2 separate regions of the Homo sapiens genome follow, and region 2 is linked to region 1. The links are contacts of gene promoters, found by promoter capture Hi-C in blood cells and fetal thymus (Javierre and others, 2016). All regions are on one chromosome and are shown on one strand. The core of a region is centred on a gene start or on the middle of the fragment in contact, and the rest is flanking DNA. Distances in the headings are between cores, read along the strand shown.

The links. The method cuts DNA at HindIII sites, captures the fragments that hold promoters and counts their contacts. A CHiCAGO score of 5 or more calls a contact.
Region 2: a fragment that was not itself captured here is called in contact with the fragment with the promoter of KCP in region 1 in 1 of 17 cell types (total B cells); the score reaches 7.9 in total B cells.

What each region holds. Positions count from the first base shown.
Region 1 is chr7:128,909,005-128,913,020 of GRCh38, reverse strand. KCP (kielin cysteine rich BMP regulator) reads left to right here and starts at 2,312. Exons shown (of 40, transcript NM_001366122.1): 1 at 2,312-2,420. The coding sequence starts at 2,345. It also overlaps the pseudogene LOC392787. The HindIII fragment of the contact is 11,148 bases long and covers 1,256-4,016 here.
Region 2 is chr7:129,196,396-129,200,411 of GRCh38, reverse strand. All of the region lies in intron 1 of SMO (smoothened, frizzled class receptor), which reads right to left. Among named protein-coding and RNA genes, the nearest start is that of SMO, 9.8 kb to the right of the region's middle. The HindIII fragment of the contact is 207 bases long and covers 2,157-2,363 here.

The DNA.
Region 1 (4,016 bases), core at 1,063-3,562:
GTCCCAGGCCTTCGTGGGCCAGAAGAACTCCTTCACCGTGGACTGCAGCAAAGCAGGCAGGTGGCGGGGGGAGGGCGTCTCCCGGGGTGTGAGCAAGAAGCCGTCAGGGAGCAGGGTGTGGGTCACAGTAGGGGACTCCCTGGTGTGAGCCTGTCCCTCTGCCTCCCTCTCCAGGCACCAACATGATGATGGTGGGCGTGCACGGCCCCAAGACCCCCTGTGAGGAGGTGTACGTGAAGCACATGGGGAACCGGGTGTACAATGTCACCTACACTGTCAAGGAGAAAGGGACTACATCCTTATCGTCAAGTGGGGTGACGAAAGTGTCCCTGGAAGCCCCTTCAAAGTCAAGGTCCCTTGAGTCCCAAAAGTGCCTCCCCAGCCTCAGCCCCCACCTCCAGCCAAACACACATTACATACACACACACACACACACAAATGTGCCACACCCAGACACACACACACAGAATCAGACACTACAAACACCTGCCTTGGGGGTGAAGTGAAGGCCCAGCCTCCCCACCCCACCGCACCCCAGGGGTTGGAGGACCTTTTCTGTGTCAGGACAGTGTCCCTCCCTGGGAATGTGATATGAGGGCCGACTGGGGCCAGGCTCAGTGGCAGAGGCTAAGACACAAGGGACTGGAAGGGGACTGTGGGGCGAGGGAAGCCCTGTGCATCCTCCCAGTGTGGTTTAGAGCTGCTCACCCTGATTCTCTCTGATTCTTTCTGTAAAATGGGGATGGAGGTGCCCCCATTCTTCATAAGGGAAGTAAAAATTGCTCATACCTCTGTGCCAAGCACCATGCATTACTAATCCTTACAAACACTCCATGAGGTGGGTGCTGTTAGAGCTCCAGTCACAGTTCAGAAAAATCAGCCACCAAAAGTGAAGTGACCAGCCAGAGGCCCCAGAGCAGAAAGCAAGAGCTCCAGGATGCGCCCTGGCAACCCTGCCAGAATCTGTGCTCTGAACCGTCCCACTACCCAGCCCCTCAGAGGACTTGCTTTCCAGAGGCACCCGGTCAATGAAAGCCACCTTCCTTAAACCTGCCAGGAATAGTGCTGCCGCTTCCTTGTTCCTCTTCTGGCTGGCTGGCCCTGGCTTTCCTCTGTGACCTCAGCTCCAGGCACTGAGGCCAGGTCTTAGCGTGGCATTGCAGCCTCCCTGCCCCCTGTGGCAAAGGCTCAGGTCCACTATGGGCCCAGACTCTGGGGCAGAGAAGCTGCCGTCTCCTTACTGAAGCTTTAAGCTTGGTGGAGAGTGGGCTGGGGAGACCTCAGTCCCTGCCTGGTCTAGGGGGAGGGGTGGCTTCCGACTTCTGGTCTTTATGACAGGGAGGGAGAGCTTTGGAAGGGTTCACAGCTCCGCCCTCAATGTTCCTTTTTGCCTGTGAGCTTCGCCTGTGAGACCCAACCCTCTGCTTCCCAGCTTCAAGGAGGAGTTTCCCAGCCTGTGGGCCCACAGGGACGGCTGTCCTCACTTCCTCCCTTTGGCCCCCTCTGCCTGCTGAGCCCAGGGCCCAGCCCTGCCCCCTACCCAGGCTCACCCCACAGCCAGGCCTGAGCTCAGGAGTGGGAAATGGGGCTGAGACCAGCCAGTGAAGGGCGGCCTTGGCATTTGGGGCCAAGCCTGGGACTGCTGGGGTGGGTAGGGGTGTTGAGTGGAGTTCAGGAAAGAAACTTATAGGGGAGAGAGGAAAACACTGGTCGTGTCCATGATTTCAGAGATCAGGAGTTCTTATTATTATTATTTGTTATTTACTGAGCATTTACCATCTCTCTACCGACTCTAAATTCTTTACTTATATAATCTCACTTAATGCTCACTGCAAGTCTATAAAGTAGATGTGGTGATCCCCAGTTTACAGATAGGGAAATTGAGGCACAGAGAAGTTAGTGGTCTAAGGCCACATGGAATTGGCTGAGCAGGGATCTAAACCCAGCTCAGTCTGCTTCTTCTGTAAACTTGTGAGAGAGAGGAAAAATCGATCTGGAAACCCTAGGGCGATGGAGTAACCTAAAAGGGCAGGGAGACTCTCTAGGATCCCGAGAGGGGTGGACTTGGGTTTATTTTCTTTTCAGGGTCTCCTCCTGGATCTTAAGCGGAGACAAGGCCTACACCCCCGTTGGGCTTCCTGCGAGCTGGAGCTGCTCTCTGGGGTCAGGACCGGCCGGGCCCGGGGCGGGTGGAGGTGTGCATGGGAAAGGCGCGCGCGGTGGGGGGTTTGAGCCCTCCCTGAACAAAGCCTGGGTGGGAGCGGCCTGTGTGTCCCCACCCCGCCTTCCCCAGCGCCTGCTGAGCCGCGACGACAGACGGCGAGCCGAGCGAGGCGGAGCTAGCATGGCCGGGGTCGGGGCCGCTGCGCTGTCCCTTCTCCTGCACCTCGGGGCCCTGGCGCTGGCCGCGGGCGCGGAAGGTGAGTCCAGGTGCGGGAGGCTTGGGGTCCGGCCAGGTGCGCCCCCTCCCTCCTATCAGCCCGGCCTGAGGGGGCCGAGAGGGGCTGGGGGCTCTGCTCTTAGCCCTGCCTGAGGTTCGCGCGCCTCCCTGGCCAGCTCCGTCCTCCCCGTCGGGGGAGCGAGCAGGGTGGGGAAGACCACGGCCAAAGCAGGGGGTTCAGGAGAGGGGGGCGGTTCCTGCAGCCGGCGGCGGGAGAGAGTGCGGCTGCCCTGGCATCTGGGAGTCTGAAGTTAATTATTTGTCTTGACGAAGGAGGGGGAGAAAAGGGGCCCGCTGTGGAAGCTGACTTTGCATCTGTGTCTGGCCCTCCCCGGAGCAGGACAGGCGGGAATGGAGGGCTCGGTGCCGGCACGGGGCCAGGGGAGGCTAAGAGGGGAACCCGGGACAATTCCTTGGGGACCAGCCAAGTTTGTGCCACTCGGAGCTCTTTCTGCAGGTCTCTCCAGGCGAGGCTGGCCCTAGCTTCACCTAGGGGTCCCAGAGGATTCAGCTTCTCCCGGGCTCCCATATCCTGCCTGCCTACTTAAGCAGAACTGGAGGAGTGGCCTGGGAGGAGGGGCCCTGGGCAGCAGGATGAGGCCCCACGGGAGTCTAGATTGGGTAGAAGGTTTCAGATGCTGAGACGCCCATCGTGGCCGCCCTCTGTGTGCTTGGGAAGGACTGAGACCGGGTGCCATTCCGGGTGACAGGATCCCCAGTAGAGGGACGGAGATGGGAAAGGGCACCTGGGGTTTGAGGGCCAGTATTCGCCCAGGGTGCGGGAACTGAGTTAGAATCCCTGATATAAGCCAGAAGTAGCGGGGCTGGAAAGGTGGGCGGTGCTTGTGATCCATCCCAGCGGGACTTGCTCCTGGGAGACTTCGGCTGTGTGATTCAGAAAGGTCGAGTGGAGAGAAGGGGCACAGATGGAGGCAGGGACGCTTTGTCTTCAGCCTTCTGAATGGAGATGGTGGAGAGAGGAGAAGGGGGGGATGTATTAGGGGACAACTCAGGCAACAAAATAGGGGAGCTGAGCCCCAGCTTTCTGGCTTAAGTAACTGGGTATGTGTGATGGCATTAACCAAGCCAGGGAACTTGGGACAAAGCAAGTTCAATTTTAGCCTAGAATCCCCTCTGCCTTTGATGGTGACAGTGGGTGACATTGTTCCCCTGTCTCACAGGCCTAGTGTCTGTGAGAAACCCTTTTAAGCCACTCCAGGCCTGGCCTCACTAATGAGCTGCCATGGTGGGAAAGACCCATCCCTCTCCCTCCTCCTCTCTCTGTTCCTATTGCCTCCGCTCCAGACCCTCAACTTCCCTGCCCATCCCTGCCTGGAGGAGGGACCTATGTCTGCCTCTTCCCCTCCTGCCTTTACTTTCTGGGCTGCAGGAGAAGGATCAAAGTGAAAAGGTGAAAGTGGCCGCCCCTAACCCCAGGCCAGAGCTCAGAGGTGCCCCGTCCCTCTTTCCTGGACATAGTGTCTTCTAGAAGCAGGGACAGGCTGTCTTCACTGGATCTGGTGTGTTCAAAGTTAGCAGGGGCCTTGCCAGCACATTTCTCACACCCTTCAGAAAA
Region 2 (4,016 bases), core at 1,011-3,510, 290 kb before region 1:
TCTTGCTCTGTCGCCCAGGCTGGAGTGCAGTAATGTGATCTCGGCTCACTGCGAGCTCCGCCTCCTGGGTTCACGCCATTCTCCTGCCTCAGCCTCCCGAGTAGCTGGGATTACAGGCGCCCGCCACCACACCCGGCTAATTTTTTTTTTGTATTTTTAGTAGAGACGGGGGTTCACCGTGTTAGCCAGGATGGTCTCGATCTCCTGACCTCGTGATCCACCCGCCTCGGTCTCCCAAAGTGGGATTACGGCGTGAGCCACCACGCCTGGCCAGGAAATGATTTTTTAAACCTTGGAGTGGAGAAGGCCTTCTGAAATGACACAAAGCCTACACATCATGAAATAAAAGATTTAAACAAAAGACTTCAGAAAAATCGATACAAAAATCATAAGAAAAGTAAGATACTGAAAAAATGTATTTTCAATACTTATCACAAGAGCTAATTTCCTTATATGCACAAAGCTCCTCCAAATCAGTAAAAATTGCATAATTCTATAGACACACAGGCGAAAGACAAATAACAGATCACATTTTCAAATGTTTTGATCTTTATCACTGTGATAAAAAGTATAAAAGTTTAAAAAAAGAATATTTCGTTGTAGTTTATTCCACATTTGTATTATTAAGAGTGAGGTCGAACATCTCTTTATGTTTTTTTTATTTTTTTATTTTTTGAGATAGGGTCTCACACTGTTGCCCAGGCTGGAGTACAGTGGCATAATCACGGCTCACTGCAGCCTTCAGCTCCCCAGGTTCAGTTAATCCTCCCACCTCAACCTCCTGAGTAGCAAAGACTACAGGCTCACACCACCACACCTGGTGAATTTTTGTATTTTTCTGTAGAGACAAGGTTTCACCATGTTGCTCAGGCTGGTCTTGAACTCCTGGACTCAAGGCCATTTAATGGCCTTTAAAAACATAAAGAAGGCTGAGCATGGTGGTGGCTCACGCCTGTAATCCCAACAGTTTGGGAGGCCGAGGCAGGTGGACCACCTGAGGTCAGGAGTTCTACACAAGCCTGGCCAACATGGTGAAAACCCGTCTCTACTAAAAAACTACAAACATTAGCTAGGTGTGGTGGTGGGCGCCTGTAATCCCAGCTTCTTGGGAGGCTGAGGCAGGAGAATTGCTTGAATCCAGGAGGCGGATGTTGCAGTGAGCCGAGATCGCCATTGCACTCCAGTCTGGGTGACAGAACAAAACTCTATCTCAAAAAAAAAAAAAAAAAGAAAAGAAAATACCGTACTATAAAGAGTGTAGGGATAAACTGGCACTTTTATATTTGTTGGTAGGAATAAAAATTAGTAAACACTTGTGGAGATCACTTTGGCATTATCTACCAAAATTTTATACTAGTACTTCTACTTCACATGTTCACAAAGATAATATAGATTATTCATTGCAGCACTGTTTTGCAATAGCAAAAAAGTAGAAACAGCTTGAATCCATATCCATCAATAGGAGACCAACCAAGTAAAATAATGTACACCATTATAATAGAACACTATTCAGGGTTGAGATATAGTCACATGTTGCTTAACAATGAGGATATCTTCTGTGAAATGTGTCATCAGGCAATGTCATCTTTGTGTGAACATCAGAGTGTACTTACACAAACCTGGATGGTATAGCCTACTGCACACCTAGCTGATACAGTATAACCTATGGCTTCTAGGCTGCAAACCTGTACAGCATGTTGCTATACTGAATACTGCAGGCAACTGTAACACAACGGTGAGTATCAGTGTATCTAAACATATCTAAACATTGAAAGGCTACAGTAAAAATGTGGTATTATAATCTTAAGGGAACACCATCACATGTGGTCCATTGTTAACCAAAATCTCCTTCTGGGGTGCATGACAGGATGTGCATTGAAATGGAATGATGTCCAATGTTGTCATGTTACATGGACTCAGTTGAGTGGAGAGCAGTCTATAGAGCATGGTACTGGTTGGGCGGTAGAGGAGAGACTGAGAGCACATCTACATCTGGACAGATGTTGGATATTTCCAAAAGGACACAAAAACCAGTGTTGGTGGTTACTTCTGCAGAGGAAAAATGGGTAGCTAGATGCAGAAGTAGGACTTAACTTGTTCCTTTTGAATTCTGTGCCATGTACATGTATAACCTATTTTTTAAAAGTAATTAAGCTTAAGGCTGGACATGGTGGCTCACGCCTATAATCCTAGCATTTTGGGAGGCCCAAGGTGGGTGGATCACTTAAGTTCAGGAGTTCGAGACCAACCTGGGCAATATGGCCAAACCCCATCTCTACAAAAAAACAAAAACAAAAACAAAAACAAAACTTGAGCTTAAAAACAAAATAAAGAAATACACAAATTACTAGGATGGGGAAGCTTTCCAAAGAGAAAAGAAGGATATGAAACTGAAACGAGAAAGAGAGGGGATATCAGCTTTATCAGTATTATTTTACTTCTTTTATTTTAATAAAATATGAAACAAAAAGAGAAACAGGAATACGGGTGTTACCGCGCCTGGCTGATCTAGACTTTTAAAAAGACTTTTTATTTGTGTGATTCTGATGACTAGTCAAGTTGAGTATCACTGTTCTAAGGCTGGTTTAATATTAGAAAATTCAATCAATGCAATTTACTACATTAACAGGTTAAAGGAGAAAAAAATCATATGATCATCTCAATGGATGCAAAAAAAAGTTGATAAAATTCAGCCGGGCGCAGTGGCTCACACCTGTAATCCTAGCACTTTGGGAGGCTGAGGCGGGCGGATCACACGGTCAGGAAATTGACCTGGCTAACACGGTGAAACCCCGTCTCTACTAAAAATACAAAAAATTAGCCGGGCGTGGTGGCATGCGCCTGTAGTCCCAGATACTTGGGAGGCTGAGGCAGGAGAATCGCTTGAACCCAGGAGGCAGAGGTTGCAGTGAGCTGAGATCGCATCACTGCACTCCAGCCTCGGTGACAGTGACACTTCGTCTCCAAAAAAAAAAGTTGATAAAATTCAACATCCATCTATGATCAAAAGAATAATTGGCAAATTTGAAATAAGAGACAACGTTCTTAATCTGATAAAATGTAATTAACTATAAAAAACCTATACCAAACATCAAATTTAATGGTGAAGGGTAGAAAAAGCTTTCTTTTTAGAATCCAGAAAAGTCAAGAATTAAGATGTTTTGTCTATTTAACAATGTACTGGAAGCCTTCAGTAAAGCAATAAGGATAAATAAAAGGTATAAGACTTGGAAAGAAAGAAACAAAACTCATTACTCACAAATTATATGACTATGTGTATAGAATAAATTTAGCAAGTTTACTGAATTCACAATCAATTTTATTTCTATATATCAGCAACAAAGTGAAATAAATGTTAAAGGCATCAATTTTATTTCTTTTTTTTTTTTTTTTTTGAGACGGTGTCTCACTGTATTGCCCAGGCTGGAGTGCAGTGGCACAATCTGGGCTCATTGCAAGCTCCGCCTCCCAGGTTCACGCCATTCTCCTGCCTCAGCCTCCTGAGTAGCTGGGACTACAGGCGCCCGCCACCATGCCCGACTAACTTTTTGTATTTTTAGTAGAGATGGAGTTTCACCATGTTAGCCAGGACGGTCTCAATCTCCTGACCTCGTGATCCCCCTGCCTTGGCCTCCCGAAGTGCTGGGATTACAGGTGTGAGCCACCGTGCCCAGCCAGTTTTATTTCTATATGTCAGCAACAAACAAAGTGAAATAAATGTTAAAGGCATCATTTACAACAGCATCAAAAATATCAAGTACCTAGGAATGTCTAACAAATAATAAGTATTTAAATCTGTGCAGAATATTGAGAAAATGAAAGATCTAAATAGAAATATATAAATGTTCAATGTTTGGAAGACTCAGTATTGTAAAGATGTCTCTTTTTTTTTCCAAGTTAATCTATATAGTCAATGCAATCCCAATAAAAAATCACCAAGTATTTTTATATTAAAACACAAAGGAGCATTTTGGGAGGCCAAGGCAGGAGGATCACTTGAGCCCAGGAGTTCAAGA